2 separate regions of the Homo sapiens genome follow, and region 1 is linked to region 2. The links are contacts of gene promoters, found by promoter capture Hi-C in human tissues and cell types (Jung and others, 2019). All regions are on one chromosome and are shown on one strand. The core of a region is centred on a gene start or on the middle of the fragment in contact, and the rest is flanking DNA. Distances in the headings are between cores, read along the strand shown.

Region 1 (7,181 bases), core at 2,943-5,442, 480 kb after region 2:
GAAAAGTTATTAGAGCTAAAAGGAAAGTTCATTAGGTTTTTCAGAAAAAATTATTACACAGAAATCCGCATCTTTCCTGTATGTCTGCAGTAATCAGGTTTATTTATATAAACTCATATATATAAAAGAGATGGTTTTCTTACCAATATGACATATCTAGGAATAATTTTTAACAAGCAAGGGATGGAACTATCTGACAAAAACAAGATTTCTCAACTAGAAAACTCATTATTATAAAATATCATCACCTGTTTATTCATAAATTTAATACAAGTCTAATGAAAATTCTATTTATTCTTTGTTTTGAGAGGAAGTACTCAATGATTTTAAATTTAGATTTACTTGGAAAGATAAATGGATACAACTAGGTAATGAAAATAATAAATAAAATGAGTGGGAATTTATTCTGACAGACATTAAAATGCTACAAATCTAAGTGGTCAGGGTTACAAATGAGTTTTACTTTGTGCTTTTTTGATTTTCAAAAATTACAGATGTTTCATTTTAAAAAGAAACTATATATTTTAAAGTCTTAAATATGACTGCATTTCTGGCGTGCCCTTTAAAATATTTAAAGTTTCTTTATGCTTTATGTGGAGATAACTTACATGAGAAGTAATTTTCATTAGTATTATTGTAGTTATATTCATGGTTTTTATAAGCTTATGTAGGATTTTTGAATTAGTTTGATCTGCATCTTTTGAAAGGCTTCTTCCATTTCTTAATTAAATATATTTCTGTGAATATTAGCAAGGAGTGAGCTTCAACAGGCTAATTATAAGACTTGTGAAATCCTCGCAAAGCTAATAACCTCCAGTCAGGCCAGATTTGAATTAACAGAATTGCTTGATAATCTGATGTTTGCCTGTTGTGATTTTATTGCATGTGAAAACACTTGATTCTCCTTAAGAGGAAAGAGAAGTTCTTTTTCCTTTAAAGGGAAAACTCGTAAATGAATTTTTGAGGATACACAGGAGATTTAGATTTACAGGATTTCTTAACTTCTCTGTGGGTGAATTTTGCCCCCAGGAGTTTTAGACTTTAATGTTATAGTCGGATCAGCCCCTGGATGGTGTGGGCTTGGTCCTTTCACACTTACTATTTTAATTTGGGGTTCTTCCCTTATTTTGATAACTTTAACTTTCATAGGAAAATCAGTCGCCTATATGCCTTATGCTGAGGTCAAACGTGCTCTAGAACAGGAAGCACAGATGCACAATACTGCAGCAAGGTCAGCCTCACCGTGTAGGCTTTCTCCAAGAGAAGTCAGTAAAGCCGCTCCACAGCCTGATATGAGTGCAGCCCGCTATAGTGTCCCGCCAGGTAAATATCACTCCTCTGTGCAGTGGCTGCTGGCCATCCACCCACAGATGTTCCACGTGGGTGGTTTAATCTCGTGAATGAACTGCTCTTCCAGGACGTGTCCTTGCTGTTTCAGAATGACTTTGTTTCTCTGCGTTCCATCATCAGTTGTATTTAGTTGAGTTCACTGGGCCACTGGGAAATTTGTGTTCACACATTTATACTGTGACATTGACTGGCTCTTCCTTTAAGAAGAGTACATGAATTTGTAAAAGTCTTGAGATCTCCCCATCCCCAAAATTCAAGTGTTCTGTGAGAGCCAGAATCAGTAAGTGTTTCTCAATATGCAAGATGCAAAAAGGATGTATAACTGGTTGTCAGTCATGTCTGCGCATTCTCTGAAGTAGTGTTATCAGCTGTTTTTAAGAAGTACCCTAAGAGTGATTGGCGAGAGAGAAAAAATTTTTGAAGACTGATGTTTGCTATGCTAAGCAGAAGTTTGAAATAAGCATCAGCTTGAAAGCTGTGGTTTGAAAGGGAGTTGAATATTTCAACCCCACAAATAGTATTTGTGACAAATATGTATACAGGCTTACGTGAATGAGAAATTTAAAATAGAAATGTTCATTGTTGGTTTCATCTTACATTTTTTAATTAGTGATTTAAAAATTCAGGAATGACTGAGAGAGGTAACATGTTGTAAACTAGGAAATGGACTAGTTTAAAATCATTTTTCTTTCCTTTTAAAAGTCCTTCAGCCTGCTCCACATCAAGTGATAACTAATCTCCCTGAAGGCGTTCGGCTTCCGACAACTCGACCAACCAGGCCACCGCCCCCTCTCATCCCGTCATCCAAAACCACAGTGGCTTCAGAAAAACCATCTTTTATAATGGGAGGCTCCATCTCACAGGTGAAACGACTTCTCTTTACAGTAGATTTCTTGTTGAATATGGCTTTGTTAAAACTTGTCCTCCCTCCTCGCACTGATTTGTCAGAGTTGTAATAAATAATAATCTGTCTGAATATGAAGTTTCAAGAGATAATGACCAGAAGATGCAGCAGTCACTGTACTCTTGCCACAAATCAGAACTTTCAGTGAGTTATGTACCCAGATTGAGTGGTCATAACATACCACCCATTTAATTACACTTGGCACTTGGCATACCACTTGGTTTAATTTACATCACTCTAAACTTACCAAGTTTTAAACTTAGTTTCAAACAGTAGAATATTTGTTCACTAACATATGGTAAAGGCTCAAAATATTAAATTGTAGGTGGTTAGTATTATAATTTATTCTGACTTTGGCCACTAAATCTTTTTTCTGGTTCATTACTTTTTAAAAAATTGAGATATGGTCTGGTCTTCACAGTTCCATCAGTTTTGACTAACTGTACATCAGTGGTCACACCCCTGTCAACTTATTGAACACTTCCATCACTTCAGAAAGTTTTCTCATGTTCCTTCCCAGGCCATCTCCCCTTCCACTGCCTGAAGCAACCACTATTTGATTTCCTGTTGTTGTAGATTAGTTTTGCCTTTTCTAGAACTTCCTGTGAATGGAATCAAACATGGTGTACTCTTTTGTGTCTGTCTTCTTTAACCCAGCATAATGGTTTTAGGGAATTCATCCAGGGTTTTATGTAATCAGTAGTTTCTTCCTTTTTATTGCTGAGTAATACCAGTTTGTTTATCCATTCTCCTGTTGATGAAAACCTGAGCTATTTCCAGTTTTTGGCAGCTATGAATAAAGCTGGTCATTCTTGTAATGGGTTCTTTGTGGACATATGTTTTTATTTTTCTTGTACAATTACCTGGGAGTGGAATTACTAGGTTTGTGTATGTTTTATACTTTTCCAGAATGGTTCTACAATTTTATGCTGCCACTAGCAATGTATGAGACGTGATTGCTCCATTTGCTGTTGTCAAGTCTTGGTCATTTTAGTCATACTTGGTGTGTAGTAATATCTTATTGTGGTTGTATTTTACATTTCCCTGAAAACAAACAATGTTGGGCACTTTTCATGTGCTTATTGGCCATTTGTACACCTATGAAGTGACTATTTAAGTCTGATTATCTGTTTCTACTGGGTCTTTTTGATACTGTGTTGTAGATCTTTATTATGGTTGAAAGTTCTCTGTTAGATATATGTATTACAAATATTTTCTCTGTTTTTTGTCTGTTTATTTTCTTACTGGTATTTTGATGAGAAGTTTCAAATTTTTATATAGTCTAAATATATATACACACTTTTTTCTCCTATGATTAGTTTTATTTTGCTAAGAAATCTTGGCCTGCTCCAAGGTTGTGAGATATTCGCCTGTGTTTTCTTCTGAAAGCTTTATAATTTTGGCTTTTATATTGAGGCATGTGACCAGTCTCAAATTAATTTTTGTGTATAGTATGAGGTCAGGATTAACATTCATCTTTATTTAAATTTCTAGTTGAAAAATAGCACCAGTTGAAACGTCTTTTACTCATTTGATCGCTTCAGTTCCTTTGTTAGAAATCATTTGACAGTATATATGGGTCTGTTTCTGCACTGTCTCCATGCTGTTCCACTGATCTACTTGTTCATCGTTTTGTCAGTACCACAGTCTTGATTACTGTAGCTTTATTGTAAGTCCTGAAATCATGTAGTATAAGTCTTCAGTGTTTTTGTTTTTCAAGATTGTTTTGACTATTTGATGTCTTTTGCATTTTCATATAAATTATATAATCAGCTTATCAATGTCTGTCTCCCCCCTTTTTTTGGTTCCCAAGTTTTATTCAAGAACTCATACAAAACATTCCAGGTAAATGAGTTATAATCCTCATCTTCCTTCTCTTTGTCCTGGTTAATTTGGAAGTAACACAATCCGAAATTCTCTTTGCTATTAGCAGCTACGCACGACCAATCACATAGCTTATTCTTCAGATATTTTTTGATGAGCTATTTCAAATACCCTTTGGAAAAAGGCACCTCAGAAGTTACGGTGCTTGTGTTCTTGCTCCTTTCAATAGTTACTACCCCTCCACCAAGATTCCCAGCTTTTCCATTCACTTTAATTCTGTCTTGGAGAAACTGCTCACAATTGGCAGCATCATCTGCGGGGTAGATCCAGTCAAGGGTATACTTCAGAACCTGCTTTTTTTCTTTTTTTGCCCCCACTTTTTCATGGGCACCTGGCAGCAGCAGAGGCAGAAACAATCTGTTTGTCAGTCTACTTAAAGAAAAAAAATTCTGCTGGGATCTCTTCTCTTCTCTTTTTTTTTCTTTTCTTTCGCCACTTCATTTATTTTATTTGCAGGAGTTGAAACATGTTTTAAGGGTGATGTTTATTTCCCCCCCCAAACATGAATCATTTAAGTAAAACCAACTTAACTGTAGAAATGTAGCAAAGTAAGGGGAAAGTAGCACAAACCACCCAAGAGGCAAAGGTTGTGGGGAAGAGGTGGGTGCAGTGAGCATTTAACATATGCATAAATGCTTTACGATTCACCTGCTCAGCACTGCCTCCCCAGAAGGCGAGCATAGGGAACTATTTTACGAGGATGTTTCCCCCCAAACATCTGAGAATGCTTCAAATTATAGTTTAAGGTTTAAAAGACCAAAAAAAAAAAAAAACCATGAACCACCCATCTGCTGGGATTTTTGTTGGGATTGTATTAAATCTATAGATCAATTTGAGGTAGAAATGGAAATCTTACATCGAATCTTCTAATCTATGAACTTGTATATCTATATCTCTCAGCAGCGCTTTAAAGTTTTCACTTTAGAGATTTGTATGTGTTTTGTTTGATTTATATTTGGCTATTTGATTCCTTTAAATTTTGTTTTTGTTTTTTTTTTTTGGACAAAGTCTTGCTTTGCAGTAGTGTGATCATAGCTCACTGTAGCCTCCAACTCCTGGGCTCAAGCAGTCCTCCCACCTCAGCCTTCCGAGTGGCTAGGAATTTTTTTTTTTTTCCTTTTTTTGAGACAGAGTCTTGCTCTGTTGCCCAGGCTGGAGTGCAGTGACACGATCTCGGCTCACTGCAACCTCCGCCTCCCAGTTTCAAACAATTCTCCAGCCTCAGCCTCCCAAGTAGCTGGGACTACAGGTGCACGCCACCCTGTCTGGCTAATCTTTTTGTATTTTTAGTAGAGACGGGGTTTCACCATGTTGGCCAGGATGGTCTTGATACAGGAATACTGAATAGTGAATTGGTGAACATGGACATGAATTTCTTGTTGCTCATCTTAGAAGGAAGGCATTCAGTATTTTACTGTTAGGCAGAATGTTAAGTTTTTCATGGATGTCTTTCATCAGATTGAAGATGTTTCCTTCCGTTCTTAGTTTGCTGAGACCCACCCCCACCCCTAGTTCTTATATTTTTTTAGCTCCAGAATTTCTATTTTGTTCTTTTTAATGATTTCTTTCTCTTTGTTGGTGTTCTCTATCTGGTGAAGTATCATTCTTGTACTTTCTTCTTTTTTTTTTTCTTTTTCTCTCTCCTAAAACAATTCTGTTGCTCAGGCTGGAGTGCAGTGGCATGATCTTAGCTCACTGTAGCATCAGTCTCCTGGGCTCAGTCAATCCTGCCTCAGCATCCTGAGTAGCTGGAACTACAGGCATGCATCACTATGCCTGGCTTTTAATTTTTTTTTTATTTTTTATAGAGACAGAGTCTTAATATCTTGTTAAGGCTGGTCTCAGACTCTTGGCCTCAAGCGATCCTCCTGCCTGGGTTTCCCAAAGTGTAAGGATTAAAGAAGGCAGGCCACTGCACCTGGCCTCCTTTAATTTAGACATGGTTTATTTTAGTTCTTGGAATACATTTATAATAGCTGATTTAAAGTCTTTATTCCTGAGCCCAAAGCTCAGGAATATTTTCTGTTCCCTGCTCTGTTTCATATGTATGGCTCACACTTTCATGTTTCTTTGCGTATCTTATAATTTTTGGTCAAAAACTGGACATTTTGTATAATGTAGCAACTCTGGAACTTGGATCCCCCCCACCCCCACTTTTCTTTTCAGAGCTTGTTGTTTCTTTTGGCTGTTATTATTTGCTTAGTGACTTTTCTTAACTAATTCTGTAAAGTCTGTATTATTTGTTGTGTGTAGCCACTGAAGTCTGATTAACTTAGTGATCAGCTAATGATTAGACAGACATTTCCTTAAATGTCTAAAATCAGTAAAATCAGCCTTTGCTGAGGGGTGCTCTTTATGTGTTGGGCACTTAACAGCTTTGCCTTAGTCTTTACTTCCTGGCGTGCAGAGCCTTAAGGGCAGCCTAAGTTGAGAGCAGTGGGGCCTTCCCATGTCTTTCCTAGGCATATTCATAGCCTTGCACATGCATGTAGCATTCTAGGTTCTAGGGAATATGTTGGAGTTTTTCAGACCCCATGAACATCTCATTCCCTGGCTTTTCCTTTTAAGTGTTTTGGTTAGCCTGTTGTTTACCCTGGCTGTTATCTACTGTCTCAGGCAGTGGAGAAGTTAATCAGTTGCCTCTGATTGTTTTTGACAAGTCTGCACCTCCTCTCCCACTCCAGTCAGGTCAAATAAAGACAGCTTTGTGAATGGAGTCTCCCAGAGAACCAACAGAGAAGTCAAACAATGACAGTTATCTGGGAATGAGGCTTTTAAGGAGCTCCATCCTTGCTCTTTCCCTTCTAGTGGCTGCCAGGCAGCCACCATAGGTTTGCACTATGATTGAGTGCTTTTGGTTTTCAACACTTCCATAGAGTTTGATCAGGAGAATGAGAATGGAACAAGTTAAAATGCCACAAAGCCCATTGTTTTTACCTGTTTTTACCTAGATTCAGCTTTTTTTTTTTTTTTTAAATAAATATTTCCAGATTTCTACAAGCCTTTGGTTAATTTCCAGGGTTCTTTAAAAGTCGATTCTTAC
Region 2 (6,917 bases), core at 2,608-5,107:
AGGCATGAGCCACTGTGCCTGGCCAGGAATGTGCTCCTTTTCAATAAACTCTCTGGTACTCTAATATATGTTTTACCTTCTTGATCCAGCATCCTCAGGGTCCAGTCTCATACATACTGTCCTGGTTCCTACAGATACATATAAACTAGGGCCTGTAGTAACTTCAGAGGATGGTTCTTTTCCTCTCTTATCATGCCCAGAATTTCCCCTGTTGGGTTTTTTTGGTGACTTAATTCTAGTTATTGGTCTAGTGGATGGGGTAGGGAGAGGAAAGGGTAGGTAGATCCTGAGGGGGCACGGGTTGTATTGCAATGTAGAGGCCTCAGTCTGCATCATCTTCAAGCAAGGCAGAGCCCTAGCTTTAGACTTGGAGGAGTGGGCCACTTTAGCAAGCCTGAGAAATTCAGAGTGATTGGTGTTTGAAGGTGTTTGCATGCACAAATCAAAATGTCCCCATCCCAAATCTCAGAGTTCTACTCCTTCCCAGCAGGATCCTGACCTTGGCATAGCAAACTTGCTGGGATTTAGAATTCAAACTTAGCTGAAGTTAGGGCCTGATTCTCAGCTGTTTTGCTGTCAGGCTTCAAAGAAGTCTTCTGACGCTCACATTTTCAATTAATTTGTCACTAATCACCGTCATTGTCAATAGCTCCTGGTAATAGCCATTCAATTCCATCATCTCTAGAATTACCACTTCCCCCAGTGTTATAAAGATCTGAGATATAGCACCCACCAGTGCGTTCCCTTCTGTCAACATTCCACCCCAGTTCAACACCACTGACAATTTTAACAATTACTTTGCTACAACCTGACATATGCTATCATTATCACTACTCTGCCAATCACAAGTCATAGGGCCCTCCCTCATTGTCAGCTAGGTGGCAGGTAACACAGTTTCAAAATTCCATTTTATGGCTAATGCCTGTAATCCCAGCACTTTGGGAGGCCAAGGCAGGCAGATCACCTGAGGTCAGGAGTTCAAGACCAGCCTGGACAACATGGCGAAACCCAGTGTCTACTAAAAAATACAAAAATTAGCCGGGTGTGGTGGTGGGTGCCTGTAATCCCAGCTACTCAGGAGGCTGAGGCAGAGAGAATTGCCTGAACCCGGGAGGCAAAGGTTTCAGTAAGCTGAGATTGCACCACTACACTCCAGCCTGTGCGACAGAGCAAGACCCCACCTCAAAAAGAAAAAAATTCCATTTTAGAGTTTGCGTTCTTGGAACAACTGCTGGTACCAACTGGTGTAGGGCAGATTCCCTATAAATAGATTCTGAGATGGAGAATTGCATACAAGGTAATTACTGGGTAGTGTTCTCTAGAAAAAATGCCTGTACAGGAGTGATATAAGGATAACTGGACAGAGTAATAGGTTTAAATGCTGTATGACTGCAACAGAGGCCTCAGTTGGTCTCACAGGGAACTCTTAAGCCAAGATGGCCCTTTATAGAGGCTGCAAGTTGAAGACAGGGGGCCAGGTCTTTGAGGCCTGCACTGAGCAGTCTTTGGATATGGACTTCCCCCGGGGAGAAGACGTGACTTGTGAGAGGCAGCCCCCTGCAGTTAGGACAACTCCCAAGGAAGTATTTTGCTGTGAGCCATCAGCAGCCACTCACCCGGCAGCTGCTGGGATGGATGCCTCAACCCTGAAGGAGGATCCTGGCAGCACCACAGTGTGCACTATAGGGCGTATTAAGTTTCCAGCTTTGGTTGTTGGTTTATGTTTTCCTCCCTACAGGTATGTCAGCTATTGCTTTGTATGTTTTGAGGCCTTAGTGTTAGGGACATGCTGTATATTTATGATAAATATATCTTTTCCATCAAGCACTCTTATTTATTCCCTTTTAATCTTCTCAAATTCTAGCTTATCAGATATTAGAATTATTACTTGTATCAGTCAGGGTTCAATCAAAAAAGCGGAACCAGTAGATATTTAAGATACTTGTGGCAAAGAGTTGGCTTACTCGATTGAGGGGGTGACCAGGTGAGTCCAAAGTCCATAAGAGCACCCCATCAGGAAGGGCAGGCTGGAAGCTGTGGTACGCTGATGGAGTTTCTTCTCCATCAGGGAAACTTCGGTTCTTTTTTGAAAGCTTTTAACTGATTGAATCAGGCCCACCCAAATTATCTAGGATAATCTCCCATGCTACTTAGTCCAACTGGGTTTATGGGCTTCAATCTCATCTACAAAATGCCTTTACAGCAACACCTAGATTCGTGTTTACTTAAATAGCAAGAGACTGTAGCCTAGCCAAGTTGACACATCAAAAGACCATCACACTCCCCAAGTTTGTTTTTTTTTTTTTTTGAGATGGAGTCTTGCTCGTGTCGCCCAGGCTGGAGTACATGGAGTGCAGTGGCAAAATCTCAGCTCATTGCAACCTCCGCTTCCCAGGTTCAAGTGATTCTCCTGCCTCAGCCTCTTGAGTAGCTGGGATTACAGGCGTGCGCCACCACACCAGGCTAATTTTTGTTCTTTTAGTAGAGACGGAGTTTCACCATGTTGGCCAGGCTGGTCTCAAACTCCTGACCTCAGGTGATCTACCTGCCTGGGCCTCCCAAAGTGCTGGAATTACAGGCGTGAGCCACCGCGCCCGGTCCAACTTTCTTTTTGTTAAAATTTTCCTGGTGTGGTGATATTAAGAGTCTTTGACAGTCCTCCTCCACCCTCACAGGATTCTGCCTCCATTTGATTCTCTGTAGGCTTGTGATTGCTTTGACCAAGAGTCTGACAGAATTGGTGTTAGGTGACTTCCAAGGCCATGTTATAATTGGCCATGGCGCTTCTCTCTTGTTCACTGGAATGCTCACTCTTGGAGCCCAGAGCCACCATGTAACAAGTCCAGCTGCCCTCAGTCCTTTATGCTGGAGAGACCACATTGAGGCACTCTGGTCAAACACAAGCCGAGTTCATCTTTTAGCCCATCTCCTCCCAAGCAGTAGACATGTGAGTGGAAAAGCCATCTTGGAAGCGGGCCCTCCCAGCCATCAAATCATCCCAACAGAGGCTACAGACATAATGAGGCAAAGGCCCACCCACTCAGTTCCCCTTTCAAATTCCTCACCATGAAATTTATGAGCATAATACGGTGATTGTCCTTCAAAACCACTAAGTTTTGGGGTGGTTTGTTAATAGAACAGTAGATAACGGGAACACCTTGAATATGTTTTTCTATGCTTTTATTTTTCCAGTGTTTTATGTATTTTTGTTTTGTGTCTCTTAGAAATAACAGCTACTCGGGAGGCTGAACCCAGGAAGTTCAAGTGAGAATCACTTGAACACAGGAGAATCACTTGAACCCAGGAGGCGGAGGTTGCAGTGAGCCGAGCTCGCACCATTGCACTCCAGCCTGGGCGACAGAGCGAGACTCCGTCTCAAAAGAAAAAAAAGAAAGAAAGAAAGAACATGGGTTTTTTTCCCCCAATCTGAGAGTCTCAGAATCAAATTCCTGAGGAGGAAGTGAAAACCTTTCACAGTTAGTATGTATGCACAGTAAAGCCCGAAACCGCACATTAAGTCTTTCTGCCTTTAGACCCACATCTTCCCTGCCCATTCTTCCTCTAGGAAATCTGGCGCCCAGTTTTCTCTGCGTAGTTGGCGCGGGGCTTCAACTCCCGGCGCTCCTCCAGCTACTGGCACCTCCCTGGCCTCCAAGACGTCTACCAGACCTGCGTCTGCCCGGGGAAACTTTGAAGTTCCCTTCGGAACCTCGCAGGCTGACAAGCAAGTCAGAGCGATGGGTGGAGGAGGTTGCCATGGAGACAGGTCCAGGGCCAGAGGCGCGGGAGGGGGAGGCGGCAGCTTGGGCTCCGATTGGCTCTGCGGGCGCGCAGCGTTCCTCTGGCGCACATGCGCAGTGACGCCGAGGCGAGGTCGCGGCTAAGCAGAGGCGCCGGGGTTTCTGGGCCGGGCTTCTCAGGACCGGGCTGGAACGTGCAGCTCCTGGCCGGGACACTCTGTGCTTTGCGGGGAAGGGAAGTGGCGGAGCCCGAGGATCCGCTGCCGCTCGGGACTGAGCCCGCCACGCAGGCGCCTGTGCCAGCGTCGCCATTGTTGCCTGTGGCCTTAGGGCCGCTCCGGCTGCCCGTCGGCCGGGTCCCAGCGACAGGTATTGATGTCCGGGCGCAGCGCGCGAGTGTCCGCGCGATCAGTGACAGCCCGAGCCCGTCCACGCGCGGGCTCCCGTGCTCGTGGCTTGCGGGAGGGCAAAGACGGGGTGGAGGCTGCTGTGGGCCCAGTCCCAGCGTTGCGCGTCGCACGGTCCCCGACTCCCCCGCTGCCCTCGACCTCGACCCTGCGGCTGAAGAGGAGTAAGAGGCAGAGGGACTTGGCCGGGAAGGGGAGGCGACAGGAGGCAAGGCAAGGCTGTCGCATCACCTCCGCAGGGCCTTGTAAACAGTTGTCTTTGGTGGCACGACTGTGCCTCAGCAGGGCTCGGAGCTGGAGCCTGGGGAGAGGTGGTGTCGGTTCTCCTCCAGATCAGGCCGGTTCTAAGGTTTCCTTCGAGAATCCTGGTTTCGAATATATCCCTAAAGAACTGTCTCCTATAGAAGCACTTAAAGGACTTGAAGTCACACCAACCTCTTCACTCTTTTCCAGTCCAACCCGCTGGTCTTCCCAACCCTCTGATAGTGAAAGGCTAGAATCGGCTGGCATTAACATGCAACGCAGATAAATGGCTCGCCCTTTCCCCTGACAGTTCCCTTGGGAACCTTGAGCACTGTATTAAGAAGAAATTCTCCTAGTTTCTTCCAAGTAACAGATTCACTTTGTTATTGTTGAGAGTCCGTTCAGTCATTACAGCTTCTGTAACATCAGTGACTAAAATAATGAAACTATTTTCTCTATAAAAATGTTTAATTTTTGTTACAACAGGTTAGAGGTTTAATCTGTTGTTTGGCTTAGATTCGAGTCATTGCCTCTGACACTACCTTTTTAATAGCAGCTCCATCCCCCACCAACCCCAAGCAGATGGCAGTTCCCTTACAAGTCTAAGGATATAGGGGAGGAAGACAAGGTAAAGCTTATGTGTGTTCATCTATGCACACTGCGAGTCTGTTTCTGTGTGTGTATATGTATAGTAGAGTACACCAGGGATTCTTGACCTTGTGGTCCATGCTTGTGTTTCAGGGTCTCTTATCCATCCCTGCAAGTTCTGGGCTCAGAATTTGTCACTAAGGCTGCTAACTCTACCTTGATTCTGTTCTGCCCTCGGCTGCAGCAGCCTTTGATATAGTGTCCTTGTGACTCTAGCATGAGACTTCAAGCAGTTGGCTCACTACTGGAGAAATAAAGGATATTGCCAGATTGACTCTCCTGTCTGTAGCAATGTTAGCCTCAAGCAAGAGGATGAACAGTTCTTCACGTTCTCAAATCCTTCTAAGGTGGAAGTCAGACAAGGCTCAGAGTGGACCCTACAATGTTGAGAAGGAAATCCTTACTTCAAGATTCTTGCGTGACACTGAGACCTGTCGACAGAATTTTAGGAATTTTCCATACCCAGACCTGGCTGGTCCTCGAAAGGCATTGAGTCAACTCCGAGAGCTCTGCCTTAAGTGGCTGAGACCTGAGATTCACTCAAAGGAACAAATTTTGGAGCTGCTGGTGCTGGAGCAATTCCTGACCATCCTGCCTGGTGAGGTTAGGACTTGGGTAAAGTCCCAGTATCCAGAGAGCAGCGAGGAAGCAGTGACTCTGGTGGAGGATTTGACTCAGATTCTAGAAGAGGAAGGTGAGAATCATAGAGCAGAGAGGGGAGGAATCCCTGGGTGGTTAAAGAAGACAACTAGCACATCTGAGCAGCTCCTTTAAAGAAATCAGGGAGAGCACTGAGAGGTCCAGGATGCATTTTTTAAAAAGAAAGAAACTGGGGAGAACAAAGGTTAGTGAGTGAGAACAAGGCTTTAACATGAGCTCCATCCTGCATGGTGTTCTCCTTCCAGATTGCTTGGGAGCAAACACACATTATCTAAACCCCCAAGAAAAACGTCTTGAAATAATGACCAGACGCAACCAAATTACCACTGTGTGAGCCCTCAGAAAGTACCTTCAGAGGTTTGCACCATTCTACTAATAAATCATTTGCTTTGTGAATTGAATTTTACAATAAAATACTTCCAAAAAAGGAAGAAAGGGTCTAGAGAACATTCCCTTATTAAGAGATAACTCACAAAATTAATATCACATAAGGATTTAGTTAAAATGTGAATTTTGTTCATACTCTTTAAGATTTTTAGAGCGAGCTTGTTTTTGAAGTCTGTTTTGATGTCTTAGGACAAGTCATTGGCCCTTTCCTCTGATGCTTTGAAGTAGGAGTGCTGTTTTTGATTTCCTTCTTACTTCTCGATTTAAGAAAGTGTAGGCATCTATTTGGTGAGGGGTTTCCTAGGCTATTCAGAAAGGACTAATCTCCCTCATGACCTCTTTCTCTTCTCTAGCTCCTCAAAACTCTACCCTTTCCCAAGATACCCCAGAGGAAGACCCCAGAGGAAAACATGCTTTCCAGACAGGATGGCTAAATGACTTGGTGACCAAAGTGAGTGTGACTGTCTTTTCTGATTTTAAAATGCCTTCTTAGTGTGTGAGGACATTTTCTGACCTGGCCCTATAACTACTGTGCCCCCAGAAGCTCTATCAAGGACTTAAGCCCCAGTTTCTCTCCTATGTTATCTTGGTCTGTTAAGGTAGGTGAATGTACTATAAAGAAAAGGTGCTTCCATTGCCTTCCCTTGATATGTCTTTCCTTACTTTGACTTTGTCAGCAATATCACATAGAGAATACGAGATTGACCTCCACAGCCAGATGGATTTAGGTTTTGTTTCCCGGCTCTACCATTGGAACTGCAATTTGGGACAAGATACTTAACCTCTCTTAGCCTGAGTTATTCTACTCTCATAAATAGAATTTACCTCTTAG

What was found. Contacts are between HindIII fragments. The study calls those that stand out against the background at their distance.
Region 1: a contact is called between a fragment that was not itself captured here and the fragment with the promoter of ZNF287 in region 2, in 1 of the 25 tissues and cell types used here (lymphoblastoid cells).

The regions. Positions count from the first base shown.
Region 1 is chr17:16,081,314-16,088,494 of GRCh38, reverse strand. It overlaps NCOR1 (nuclear receptor corepressor 1), which reads left to right. Exons shown (of 46, transcript NM_006311.4): 23 at 2,053-2,213. It also overlaps the pseudogene RPL22P21. Among named protein-coding and RNA genes, the nearest start is that of SNORD163, 68 kb to the left of the region's middle. The HindIII fragment of the contact is 4,077 bases long and covers 2,154-6,230 here.
Region 2 is chr17:16,566,144-16,573,060 of GRCh38, reverse strand. ZNF287 (zinc finger protein 287) reads left to right here and starts at 3,857. Exons shown (of 6, transcript NM_020653.4): 1 at 3,857-4,109; 2 at 5,132-5,732; 3 at 6,439-6,536. The coding sequence starts at 5,330. RefSeq lists enhancers at 3,793-4,292, 4,293-4,794. The HindIII fragment of the contact is 5,740 bases long and covers 498-6,237 here.